2 separate regions of the Homo sapiens genome follow, and region 2 is linked to region 1. Evidence: promoter capture Hi-C in human tissues and cell types (Jung and others, 2019). All regions are on one chromosome and are shown on one strand. The core of a region is centred on a gene start or on the middle of the fragment in contact, and the rest is flanking DNA. Distances in the headings are between cores, read along the strand shown. Region 1 holds the start of NMUR1 (neuromedin U receptor 1). Region 2 has its middle 6.7 kb from the start of TEX44.

Region 1 (6,236 bases), core at 2,486-4,985:
CTGGCCCCAGTCCAGGGTGGCATGAGGGACACACAGGCCCTAGACATGAGAGACACAGGCTTTTTCTGGCCTTCTCACTGTGTGACTTGAACATGTCCTCCCTTTGGCCACAAGCGGAGGTTGGGGCCTGGTACACAGGCTGAGCCCCTGTGAGGAGGTGACCGGCTCCCTGTGCCCAGCACCCTGCCTGAAGCCTGTGAGCTGGCTGTCTCTGGGAGAGCTCAGGAACAGGCCTCACAGCCCTCAGGGGGCAAGGGGCTAGACAGTCCCCAGTGGTCCCCTCTAGGAGCAGGAGAGGCAGGGGCGATGCTCCCCGGAGGTCTCCTCCGCTGCTGGTCCCCACCGGGCTGCAGGGCCCCGACTGCCTGCACTGTGGCTGGGCTCCCTGCAAGCCTGTGTGCTCCTTTCCACTGGGACTCAGCTCTCCTTCCCGGGGTGCTGGGGACCTTGCCCTTCCAAACCCTACTAAGGACAGCTCCCACCCCAGCCCTGCCTCCCAGCAGCTTTCTGGTATCTTCCAGAGAATTCCAGGCTCTTCAACCCTGCACTGAGTGCTTAAACCCACATTATCACTCTTAATCCTCATGGCATCCCTGAAGGACAGGGGCTATGTTTGTGTTTTACAGGCAAAGAAGCTGAGGCCTGAAGCGCAAAGTGGCTTATCTGAGGCCACGCTGGCAGAATGCGGAGTCTCACTCTGGCCTCACAGCCTCCAAAGCCTGTACTCACCATGTTCCCTGCCTGGCTTGACCATCTCTCCCACCAGTTTCTGTGAGCAGACCAGGGCTGGTGGCTCAGGGAGCATGGGTGCATGATCACACAAAAGCCACGTGGCTCCCTGAGGTGCAATCCCAGCCCCCAAGTTCGGAACCCCATCACCTGAGGGGCCCAGACCATCCTCCTCTAGCTCCTGGCCATGGCCAGGCTGGGACCCCACAGAGCAGAGCTGGGTAGGGAGCTCTCTGACCTTGGGAGGTGCCCAGATGGGTACAGCGACTCTCCCTTGCTTCGGATATTTACTGTTCTTGTTCTCCATGTTTGCCCAATGAAGCCTAGTGATGGGGGTCCTGGGTGATCCCCATTGCCCAGGCTGCAGAACAGTGCCTCCCTCCTGTCCAGAGCTACAGTGTCCCCAAGCTCATCTCATCCTCCCTGCCTCCCCTCTGTAGGCAGTAAGTGGGGTGGGGTTGGGGCGTTTCTGGGGGAACCATGGGCTTGCCAGGAGCTGCGGGTCAGCCCAAGGCTGAGAAGGTTCTGGTTTAAGCCTGGCCTGAGTTTAAGCAGCCCCTCTTGGCTCTCAGGGACTCAGCAGGATGAGGAGGGGATACGGAGCTACTCACATGCCTCTGGCCCCATGAGTCCTGCACACGCCTGGGACTTGGGTGGTATCTCAGCAGCTCCTGGAGGTCCCAGTGGCCCTCCCTGAATGCATTTGCTGTTGTGCAGAGTTGGGTCCTTGGCCCCCTCATCTGGGCAGACGCCCACCAGCCAAGCTTAGATGGATGTGTACACCCAGAAAACTGGGGGGTGCCACCTCAGGACGGAGCAGGAGCAGCAGGATGTCATACGTTTCTGATGGGACACTACCGTGGTGGCCTTGAGCTCAGGCCCGGAGGCCAGGGCCCCTAGGGCCCTCTGCACAGTGCGGAAGTGAGGGCCACAGCCATTGTGGCCACTGAGCCTCTCCTTTTTGGGGGCTGCTCTTTAGCCTTTGATGGCTGCTAATGTTATGTGAATGATGCAACCCGCTGTAGGAATTCCTGACTGGCAAGAGTCATTCTGCCTCTGCAAGGCTAGGTGGGTCCTTCCCCATCCCCTCCAGGGCTGTGTGAACCAAAGGGTCCACGGGGACTTTCGGACTGCTCAGAGTCTGTGCAGAGTGGTATGTGTGTGCGCGTGTGTGTGGTGTGGTATGTGCAGAGTGATGTGTGCATGCATGTGTGTGTATGTGTGTGTACATGCATGTGCGTGTGTGTGTGTGTTCCAGTGAAGGGCTGGGGTCCAAATGCTCCTCACTTGCTAAGAGCAGCCTGTGATGCCACAGTGGTCTCTGATGCTGAGTGATGTCATCCCTCCTTGCCCGTCTGTTGTGCTGGCAGCCCTGTTACTGAGGATTTCTCCTGGACTAGCTCATCAGGGGCTGAGTAGTTAATTCCCAGGGCACCACAGAATCCTTTCTCCCAAGGCCCTGAGGACCACGTGCCCCTGCACTTCCCACAACCGTCCCCTGCCTGGGACTCTGTTTACATGTGGAGTTCCTGGGAAGGCCGGCCTGGTGCAGGCTCCTTGAGGGCCTAACTCCCATCCCCAAGCCCAGACAGTGACTTATGGAATTGGGGGGCAGTGGGGAGGAGGAGGGTGCAGGAAAGCGGGGGGAAGGAGGAGCCTCCAGTTGCCACTAAATGGTGACAATCCCACCCCACATTTCTTGAGTGTTGGCCATGTGCCAGCCCCTGTGCTGAATCTTGACGCTCAGTGTCTCATGTCACCTTCACAATAGTGGCGATGGTGGTTAGCCCATTCTACAGGAAGGGGAACTGAGGCACACAGAGCTTCTGAGCTCACGGTGGCCTCTCGGGGTCCTGTGGCTTTGTAACCTCTCCTGGTGCTCCTCAGTGTGATTCTGGGGCATGGGGCTCTCCAGAGGGCGTTTGTCAAACATGAGGATTTCTGGGCCTTGCCCAGGCTAAGGAGACAAAACTCTGGGCAAAGGCCCCGGAACCAGCATTTTACTCTGTGTGATCCGTCATTTCTAGGGTCCCTAGAAGTTTCTGATGAAACAGCTTCCAGCTAAGGAGCTGATTGCAGGACTAGGGAGTGGGAGCAGGTGAGGCACTGGGATTTGCATGTGGGCAGTGTGGGGGAGCAGGAGGCTGTGGCTGGGCATTCTTAACCCTTCCCTAAATTCCCTCCATCCTTGTCTATACCCCCACCCTTGGTACAGTGATGGGGGCAGAAGAACATTTGAACGGATAAGGGGGACAGTATTTGGGGCTGAGGACAATGGTGAGGAGAGGGTGGCCCAGGGAGGCAGGTGAGGAGTGGGGAGGTCCACCCCCAGGCTAGACTTTGGTGTGCTCTTTTTCAGAAGGCAGTGGGGGGGCCCCAAGGAAGGGTTTCGAGGGGGTGATGGTCGTTGGTGGCTGTGGGAGGATGGACTGGAGGGAGAATAGGGGGCTCTTGCCCAGTCCTGCAGGGCCGAGCGCCTGGACTCAGGGACTGGAGGCCCCGAAGGGAGCAGCGGGTGAGAGGGGCTGCGGAGGCTGCAATCATGGGCCTTGGGACAGAAGAAGAGGCCTGGAGCCTGGGAGGATGAACCGCACCGGGGCATGTCGACTTCAAGGGGCTGGTGGGCCGTCCCTGTCCTTGGAGGTGGGTCTGAATGGGGGGCAGGAGGAGCTGGAGGCCGCAGGGACACCGTGACGGCGTTAAGCTAAACTCAGCACGCTGGAGGGCGGGAATCACATGTGAGCCCCAGGTCTCTCGGGCTCCTCCTCTGCGGCTCTCTGAGGCTCAGTTTTCTCATCTGTAAAACGGGTTGTTGTGAGGGTTCCGTCAGATAACGCTGCTTGTGGAGGTGTCGCCTCCACGCTGCTTGTGGAGGTGTCGCCTCCAACGGCCGCGTCCTCCGCCAGTGCGGGAGGGGGCGCCGCCCGGGCTGCGGGGACTGCACTGCCCCCTGGCGGCGTTCCCGGCCGGACAGGCGGGGCGTCGGGGCGCGGGCTGGGGCCGCTGTCAGTCAGTCCACTGGCTCCCGCGCCGCGTCTGTGTCCGTCGCTCGGAGGGTGGAAGCCGGGGTCTCGCGGGCCGCGGGCCGCATGGTAGGTGCGCAGGCGCCGGCGTGGGCTAGGGCGCGGCAGCTGGGCCGGGGCTCGGTGCGGGCAGGGTCGTCCTAGGGCGGGAAGGGTCCGAGGGCTCCGTCGGGGTGCCCCCCGTCCCCGCCACCGGGGAGCCTCGCAACTTCTCGGGTCATTTGTGTCTTCCGGCCAGGGGCGCCGGGGGGCTGCGGGCTTGCGACCCTTCCTCGAGGACCAGGGCGCCTCCCTTGAACCCGGGCTGGCGCCTGCGCGTTCCCAACTGGTTCCCGAGGCTCCCGCGCTGCTGTGCAGCGGGGGTGAGGGCGGGCGGGAGGAAGGGTGTGGGGCTCAATAGAGGAGAGGGAACCCCAGAACTGGCAGTGCCAAGGGCGTCAAATATGGAGACTGAACAGTTCAGGTGACAGAAAACAGAAAAAAGAATCAACTTGTGGATGAAGCATTTGTAGTGTGTAGCCTTGACACTCCCTCACTTGACTCTCATAGTGACTGGGTCCCCAGAGCAAGGGGGTGATCCCCGTGCCCTTCCGTATGCCAGGCAGGCCCTGTGTTAATGTCTTTAATGGATTAAACTCCCTGGATCCTCCTAATAGGGAAACAGCCTCAGAGAGGTTACCTCGCTAAAGGTCACACAGCCTGGAACTGGGGAGGCTGGATTCGAATCCAGGCAGTTGCTTCCTGAGCGCTTGCTCTTGAAGACCCTGCAATACCAGGCATTGTGCCCATTTTACAGATGCCCAAACGAGTGCCTCATCTAGCATCATTGCTTGAAAGAGGAGACACCCAAGATCTGTCATTTACTCAAAGGTTCCAATAGATCATGAAATTTAAAATCAAAACCCCACGTGTTTTTTTTTTTTTAAATGTAGATTTTTACTTTTTCGTTGTTTGCTTTTTGTTTTTTTGAGACAAGGTCTTTCTCTGTTGCCCAGGCTGGAGTCCGGTGGCACAATCTCCGCTCACTGCAACCTCTGTCTCCTGGGTTCAAACAATTCTCCCGCCTCAGCCTCCCAAGTAGCTGGAATTACAGGCGTGTGCTACCACGCCCGGCTACTTTTTGTATTGTTAGTAGAGACGGGGTTTCACCATATTGGCCAGGCTGGTCTTGAACTCCTGATCTCAAGTGATCCGCCTGCCTCGACCAAAGTGTTGGGATTACAGGTGTGAGCCACTGCACCAAGCTTATTTTTACATCTCTGACTTGTGGATGGAAGAGTTTTTTCTTTCTCAGTGGTGCCTAAAATAATGGTCATCATAGCGCTAATGTCACCTTTGGCTTGATGAGTGAGGACAGAGCCAGCATTCCCTGAATGATCTTTCTGGGCATCTCTCCCCTCTGTTCCACAGACTCCTCTCTGCCTCAATTGCTCTGTCCTCCCTGGAGACCTGTACCCAGGGGGTGCAAGGAACCCCATGGCTTGCAATGGCAGTGCGGCCAGGGGGCACTTTGACCCTGAGGACTTGAACCTGACTGACGAGGCACTGAGACTCAAGTACCTGGGGCCCCAGCAGACAGAGCTGTTCATGCCCATCTGTGCCACATACCTGCTGATCTTCGTGGTGGGCGCTGTGGGCAATGGGCTGACCTGTCTGGTCATCCTGCGCCACAAGGCCATGCGCACGCCTACCAACTACTACCTCTTCAGCCTGGCCGTGTCGGACCTGCTGGTGCTGCTGGTGGGCCTGCCCCTGGAGCTCTATGAGATGTGGCACAACTACCCCTTCCTGCTGGGCGTTGGTGGCTGCTATTTCCGCACGCTACTGTTTGAGATGGTCTGCCTGGCCTCAGTGCTCAACGTCACTGCCCTGAGCGTGGAACGCTATGTGGCCGTGGTGCACCCACTCCAGGCCAGGTCCATGGTGACGCGGGCCCATGTGCGCCGAGTGCTTGGGGCCGTCTGGGGTCTTGCCATGCTCTGCTCCCTGCCCAACACCAGCCTGCACGGCATCCGGCAGCTGCACGTGCCCTGCCGGGGCCCAGTGCCAGACTCAGCTGTTTGCATGCTGGTCCGCCCACGGGCCCTCTACAACATGGTAGTGCAGACCACCGCGCTGCTCTTCTTCTGCCTGCCCATGGCCATCATGAGCGTGCTCTACCTGCTCATTGGGCTGCGACTGCGGCGGGAGAGGCTGCTGCTCATGCAGGAGGCCAAGGGCAGGGGCTCTGCAGCAGCCAGGTCCAGATACACCTGCAGGCTCCAGCAGCACGATCGGGGCCGGAGACAAGTGACCAAGATGCTGTGTAAGTGTCACGGCTGGGAAGAGGGGCTGAGCCAGGCACTGGGTATGAGTTTGGGGCTCCTGGGGCCTGGGAGAAGGGGCTGAGTATCTGGGTTTATGGGGGACGAGGAACTCCTCTAGTCTCGTGTGTGTGTGTGTGTGTGTGTGTGTCTGAGTTGCACTCCTGTGTACTCTTTTAGA
Region 2 (6,236 bases), core at 1,404-3,903, 56 kb before region 1:
GAGAAGTAAGCAGAAAGTATTGAGTCGAACTTCAGAAAGGATCCTTCAAAGAGTTTAACATCTTTTTGCTCTTCCCCCTATCAGGAATGTGAAGGCTGGAGCAACAGCAACCCTCTTGGTCCAGCAAGAGGACTGGTCTAGCAACCCTCTAGGTAATCTTGAGGGTGGAAGGCACACAGTAAGAGGGTGGACCAAGCAAGGATGGAAGGACCCTGGGTCCCATGATTGGAGCTGTCCGGCAGCCACCAGACCAGACTATCGCCAACCTCTCAAATTCCTTTATGTGAGGGAAAATAACACTATATGTGCCCAAATGATTATTTTTGGTTTTCTATTACATGCAGCTAAACGTAATCCTAATCCAATTCTAACAGTTATGAGATCCCTGTCAAGTGGTTGGTCCGTGTTTGCTTGAATATCTTCCAGTCCTAAACAATCAAGAGTAGCATATGGCACTGAGTGTCAGTAGGCCTGACGCTGGGCAGGGGTTATTTCCCCATTTTTCAGATGAGGAAACTGAGGCTTAGAGAAGCCAAGCACATAGCAAGGTCAGTGGCATCTGCCTGACTCCAAAGCCCCACACCCCACACAGCTCCCTGCTTTTAGTTAGAAAGTTCTCCCCGCTCCCTATCTTTACCCAGGAAATAAAAACCTATATATGACTTAATTTTTTTTTTTTTTTGAGATGGAATCTCACTCTGTCACCCAGGCTGGAGTGCAGTGGCACGATCTCAGTTCACTGCAACCTCCGGCCCCCGGGTTCAAGCGATTCTCCTGCCTCAGCCTTCCAAGTAGCCGGGATTACAGGCGCCTGTCACCGAGCCTGGCTAATTTTTGTATTTTTAGTAGAGACGGGGTTTCACCATCTTGGCCAGGCTGGTCTTGAACTCCTGACCCGTGATCCACCTGCCTCTGCCTCCCAAAGTGCTAGGATTACAGACGTGAGCCACTGTGCCTGGCTGACTTAATGTTTTGTTGTACATTAGACTGTGAAATAATCACTACAATCAAGCTAATTAACATATCCCTCACCTCGTATAGTTTCCATCTCCCTCCCTCCCTCCCTCCTTCCCCCACCCTCCTTCCTTCCTCCCTCCCTCTTTCTTTTCTTTTTTCTTTCCCTTCCCTTCCCTTCCCTTCCTTTCCCTTCCCTTCCTTTCCCTTCCCTCCTTTTCCCTCCTCTTCTCTTCTCTTTTCTTTCTCTTTCTTTCCTCTTCCCCCTTCTCTCTTTTTTCTTGTTTTCTTTCAACAGGGTCTCACTATGTTGCCCAGGCTGGAGTACAGTGGTACAATCATAGCTCACTGCAGCCTTGACCTCCTGGGCTCAAGGGATCCTCCCACCTCAGCCTCTGAGTAGTTGGGACTACAGGTGTGTGCACCATGGCTGGCTGATTTTTAAATATTTTGTAGAGATGGAGTCTCACTATGTTGCCCAGGATGGTCTTGAACTTCTGGGCTCAAGCAATCTGCCTGCCTTGGCCTCCCAAAATGCTGGGATTACAAGCATGAGCCACCGCACCTGGCCATTTTCTTTCTTTCTTACTTTGTGTGTGTGTGTTGAGAATAGAAAGTTTCTGATGTCCCCTCATGTGGCCCACTAAAACCATCATGCACCTTATAGGCACCAAGGACAAACTCTGTATTTGGAATTCAGCTTTTGATTCTACATGTTGCACTTTATGTTGACCCTTGTTACATTTCATATGCTTGGGCCAGGCATGGTGGCTCACGCCTGTAATCCTAGCACTTTGGGAGGCCGAGGCGGGTGGATCACCTGAGATCAGGAGTTTGAGACCAGCCTGACCAACGTGGATAAACCCCATTTTACTAAAAATACAAAATTAGCTGGGCTTGGTGGTGCACCTGTCATTCCAGCTACTCAGGAGACTGAGGCAGGAGAATTGCTTGAACCTGGAAGGCGGAGGTTGTGGTGAGCCGAGGTTGCACCATTGCACTCCAGCCTGGGCAACAAGAGTGAAACTTCATCTCAAAAAAAAAAAAAGTTTCATATGCTTGAAAATCGTGCCCAAGGAAGGCTACAGTGGAATGAATAGGCACTGATGTCAAAGGCAGAGAGATTTATTAAAATTGGGGAACAAAAAATAAAGGATTATTTATTTGTAAATAAATATTAAATGAGATCAGTATAGAACAAAATATATTTATTCTGTTATGTGGACAATATATATTTTAGATATATTCTGTACATAAATAAAATACAAAATAAAATATATATGAAAGTTTTCTCCATCTTAGTTAAAAACTTTCCTACTTTTATTTTTTTTTTTCTGGTGAAAAGATATATATATATTTAGAATTAGCCAGCTGGACTCAGTTTAGATGATCCCTTTTTTTTTTTTTGAGATAGAGTTTCACTCTTGTTGCTCAGACTGGAGTGCAATGGCGCGATCTTGGCTCACCGTAACCTCCTCCTCCCGAGTTCAAGTGATTCTTCTGCCTCAGCCTCCCGAGTAGCTGGGATTACAGGCATGCGCCACCACGTCCAGCTAATTTTGTATTTTTAGTGGAGATGGGGTTTCTCCATGTTGGTCAGGCTGTTCTCAAACTTTTGACCTCAGGTGATCCGCCCGCCTCAGCCTCCCAAAGTGCTGGGATTACAGGCGTGAGCCACCGCGCCTGGCTTTTTTTTTGTTTTTTTTGAGACAGAGTCTTGCTCTATGGCCCAGGCTGGAGTGCAGTGATGTGATCTCAGCTCACTGAAACCTCTGCCTCCTGGGTTCAAGTGATTCTTCTGTTTTAGCCTCCTGAGTAGCTGGGACTACAGGAGCGCACCACCACACCTGGCTTATTTTCTTGTATTTTTAATAGAGACAGGGTTTTGCCATGTCGGCCAGGCTGGTCTCAAACTCCTGACCTCAGGTGATCCACTCTCCTCGGCCTCCCGAAGTGCTGGGATTATAGGTGTGAGCCACCGTGCCCAACCACATGATCTCATTTTTGTTGGCAACATCCAAAGCATCATAATCAGCAGCCAGTTGAACATATGCCTTCTTCTCTCCATCAGGCCTATTCAGGGTGTTGACCACTGCCACGTCGATGTCATAGAGCTTCTTCACAGCCTGTTTGATCTGGTGCTTGTTGGCTTTAACATCCACAATGAACACAGTGTGTTGTTGTCGTCTGTCTTCTTCGTGGCCAACTCAGTGGTCAGCGGAAACTTGATGATAACACAGTGGCCAAGCTTATTTCTCCCAGGGATGCTCTTCTGGGAATATCTGGGCCGCCTCCAGAGTCGCAGTGTCTTGGGCCGCTGGAAGGTGGGTGACGTGCAGATCTTTTTTTTGTGGCTGTGGATACCTTTCAGCTCTGCCTTCTTGGCCTTCAAAGCCTTTGCTTTGGCTTCAGCTTTAGGAGGGGCAAGAGCTTCCTTCTTTGCCTTTGGCATCATCTTGTAAAAAGAGTTCTCTACCTTTATTAAGTAGTTCTCATAAGAGGAAATTCGTCTCAAATAATTTGCCTTTGCTTTCTTTTCAATTCCTTTCTCTCTCTCTCTCTTTTTTTTTTTTTTTTTTTTTTTTTTTTTGAGATGGAGTCTCACTCTGTCACCCAGGCTGGAGTGCAGTGGCATGATCTCGGCTCACTGCAACCTCTGCCTCCCAGGTTCAAGCGATTCTCATGCCTCAGCCTCCCAAGTAGCTGGGACTACAGGCATTTGCCACCACACCTGGCTAATTTTTTTTTTTTTTGAGATGAAGTCTTACTCTTGTCCCCCAGGTTGCGGGCTGGAGTGCGGTGGCGTGAGTGATCTTGGCTCACTGCAACCTCTGCCTCCTGGGTTCAGGCAACTCTCCTGCCTCAGCCTCCCAAGTAGCTGGGATTACGGGTACCTGCCACCATGCCCGGCTAATTTTTGTATTTTTAGTTGACATGGGGTTTTGCCATGTTGGCCAGGCTGGTCTCGAACTCTTGACCTCAAGTGATCCGCCTGCCTCAGCCTCCCAAAGTGCTGGGATTTACAAGCATGAGCCACCGTGCCTGGCCCTCAACTCCTTTCTCTTGGGGAGAATGACTCTCGAATTAAATAATTAAATACTCTTATTTTAGGGTAAACTCAGTTTATGGAATATTATGAAGCTGTATAAAGCCTGTACAGAAACATGGAAAAAGATTGTTATATAATGTTACTTTAAAAAGCAGGAGGTTGGGCGTGGTGGCTCACACTTGTAGTCCCAGCACTTTGGGAGGCCAAGGCGGGAGGATTATTTGAGTCCGGGTGTTCGAGGCTACAGTGAGCTGTAATTGCACCACTGCACTCCAGCCTAGGCAACAGAGTGTGACCCCATCTCAAAAAATAAGGCTAGATATGGTGGTTCATGCCTGCAATCCCAGCATGTGGGAGGCCAAGGTGGGTGGAAGGAGACCAGCCTGGGTAACATGAAGAAACCCCATCTCTCCAACAACAACAAAATTAGCCGGACGTGGTGGTGTGCACCTGCGGTCCCAGCTCCTCTGGAGGCTGAGGTGGGAGGGAGGATCACTTCAGCCTGGGAGGTAGAGGTTGCAGTGAACTGAGATCATGCTACTGCACTCTAGCCTGGGTAACATTTATTACTGCGTCAATAAATAAATAGATAAATAAATAAAATTAAAATACGAAAATAAAAAAATTAGGACCAGGTGTGGTGGCATGCACCCATAGTCCCAGCTACTCAGAAGGCTGAGGCAGGAGGATCACTTGACCTGGGAGGTTGAGGCTGCAGAGAGCTAGGATAGCACCAATGCACTCTAGCCTGGGAAACAGGGTGAGAACCTGTCTCAAAAAATAAAATATTTTAAAAAGCAGGATGCAATATTTTATGCACACTATGTGTATTTATTTGCCCATACTCTTTCAGCTGGAAGCTATAGAAACCCAAATCAAATTGACTTCTGCAAAAATAACAAAAATCAAGAAATTTCTTGGCTCACAGGAACCTGTAAAGCCTGGAGGAAAGGGTCTACACAGCAGGTGCTCATGACGCTGTCAGGGATTCGGTTCTTTCTCTTCTCTTTGCTCCCTTTGTCATTGATGGCTAGATTTTCAGGGGGATTTCCTCCATGCGGAGGCTGCTAGCGCTCCAGGCATCCTTCCTAACAGCTCAGGCCAGTTCAAAGAGATGCTGGTCCCCTGCGGTTTCGGCAAATCTCGGGACAGGATCGTGGGCTCCTGGCGTGTCTCAGAAGCAATTACTACAGCATCCTGATTGCTCAGGCCTGGGTCATGCAACCACTCCTGATGTGGTTGCGGGGGGGGTGCGGCCCCACCCTAACATAAGGCCTGTGGAAGGTAGTGGAATCATTCCCAGGAGGAAAACTGGGGTGCTGTTACCAAAAGAAGGTGAACTGTGAACTGGATGCTGGGCTGGAAACATAAACTCCACTAAATGATAATGACAGACATGTGCAAGAAAGGCTGTTTATTGGGGGAAAGCCTGGCAGGAAATAGAGCAAAATGTCCGGAAGAAGTTCTGATTATTGTTAACAAAATCAGAAAACAGGGCCGGGCGCGGTGGCTCATGCCTGTAATCCCAGCACTTTGGGAGGCCGAGGTGGGTGGATCACTTGAGGTCAGGAGTTCAAGACCAGCCTGGCCAACCTGGTGAAACCCCGTCCCTACTAAAAATACAAAAATTGGCTGGTGTGGTGGTGGGCGCCTGTAATCCCAGCAACTCGGGAGGCTGAGGCACGAGAATGGCTTGAACCTGGGAGGCAAAGTTTGCAGTGAGCCGAGATCGCACCACCGCACTCCAGCCTGGGCAACAGAGTGAGACTCTGTCTCAAAAAAAAAAAAAAAAAAAAAAAAAATCAGAAGACACATAGAAGCAAAAATGACTACCTATAAATAAAAATTTAAATCACCCTAAGAAATATGGTGGACTGAGTGAGTGGGAAGCCTGCTATCTCAGTGCACACACACATACCCCCTCACACACATTCTCACTCTCTTCAAACACACAGAAATGCTGGATAAAATGTGGTCCACAGTAGGTTAAATACCTAGCTGAGCTAGAAAGAATGGGAGACCCCCATGTTCCAGAAGGGTGGACTTAGACAGGGGTGTCCCTGTGAAGACAGAGCCATGGCCTCAGGGTGCCATCCAGATTGCCGTGTGTGGAGCATTTAGCAAACAAGCGGGGCCCTGGGTGGGCTGGCTGAGAGGGGAGAGTCCACTTCGAGAATCCAGCGAGGTGCTGCCCACCAAACTGGAGAGGGGCAAGGCTGTCCTCTCAGTCCAG

Evidence for each region. Contacts are between HindIII fragments. The study calls those that stand out against the background at their distance.
Region 2: a fragment that was not itself captured here is called in contact with the fragment with the promoter of NMUR1 in region 1 in 7 of the 25 tissues and cell types used here (bladder, lymphoblastoid cells, mesenchymal stem cells and 4 more).

The regions. Positions count from the first base shown.
Region 1 is chr2:231,527,944-231,534,179 of GRCh38, reverse strand. NMUR1 (neuromedin U receptor 1) reads left to right here and starts at 3,735. Exons shown (of 3, transcript NM_006056.5): 1 at 3,735-3,821; 2 at 5,163-6,057. The coding sequence starts at 3,819. It overlaps LOC105376787 (a long non-coding RNA gene), which reads right to left and starts at 2,010. Exons shown (of 4, transcript XR_001739928.2): 1 at 1,341-2,010. RefSeq lists enhancers at 2,049-2,783, 5,273-5,799, 5,800-6,236 and a silencer at 3,478-3,907. The HindIII fragment of the contact is 18,375 bases long and covers 1-6,236 here.
Region 2 is chr2:231,583,037-231,589,272 of GRCh38, reverse strand. It overlaps the pseudogene RPL23AP26. Among named protein-coding and RNA genes, the nearest start is that of TEX44, 6.7 kb to the left of the region's middle. RefSeq lists an enhancer at 5,752-6,236. The HindIII fragment of the contact is 4,173 bases long and covers 567-4,739 here.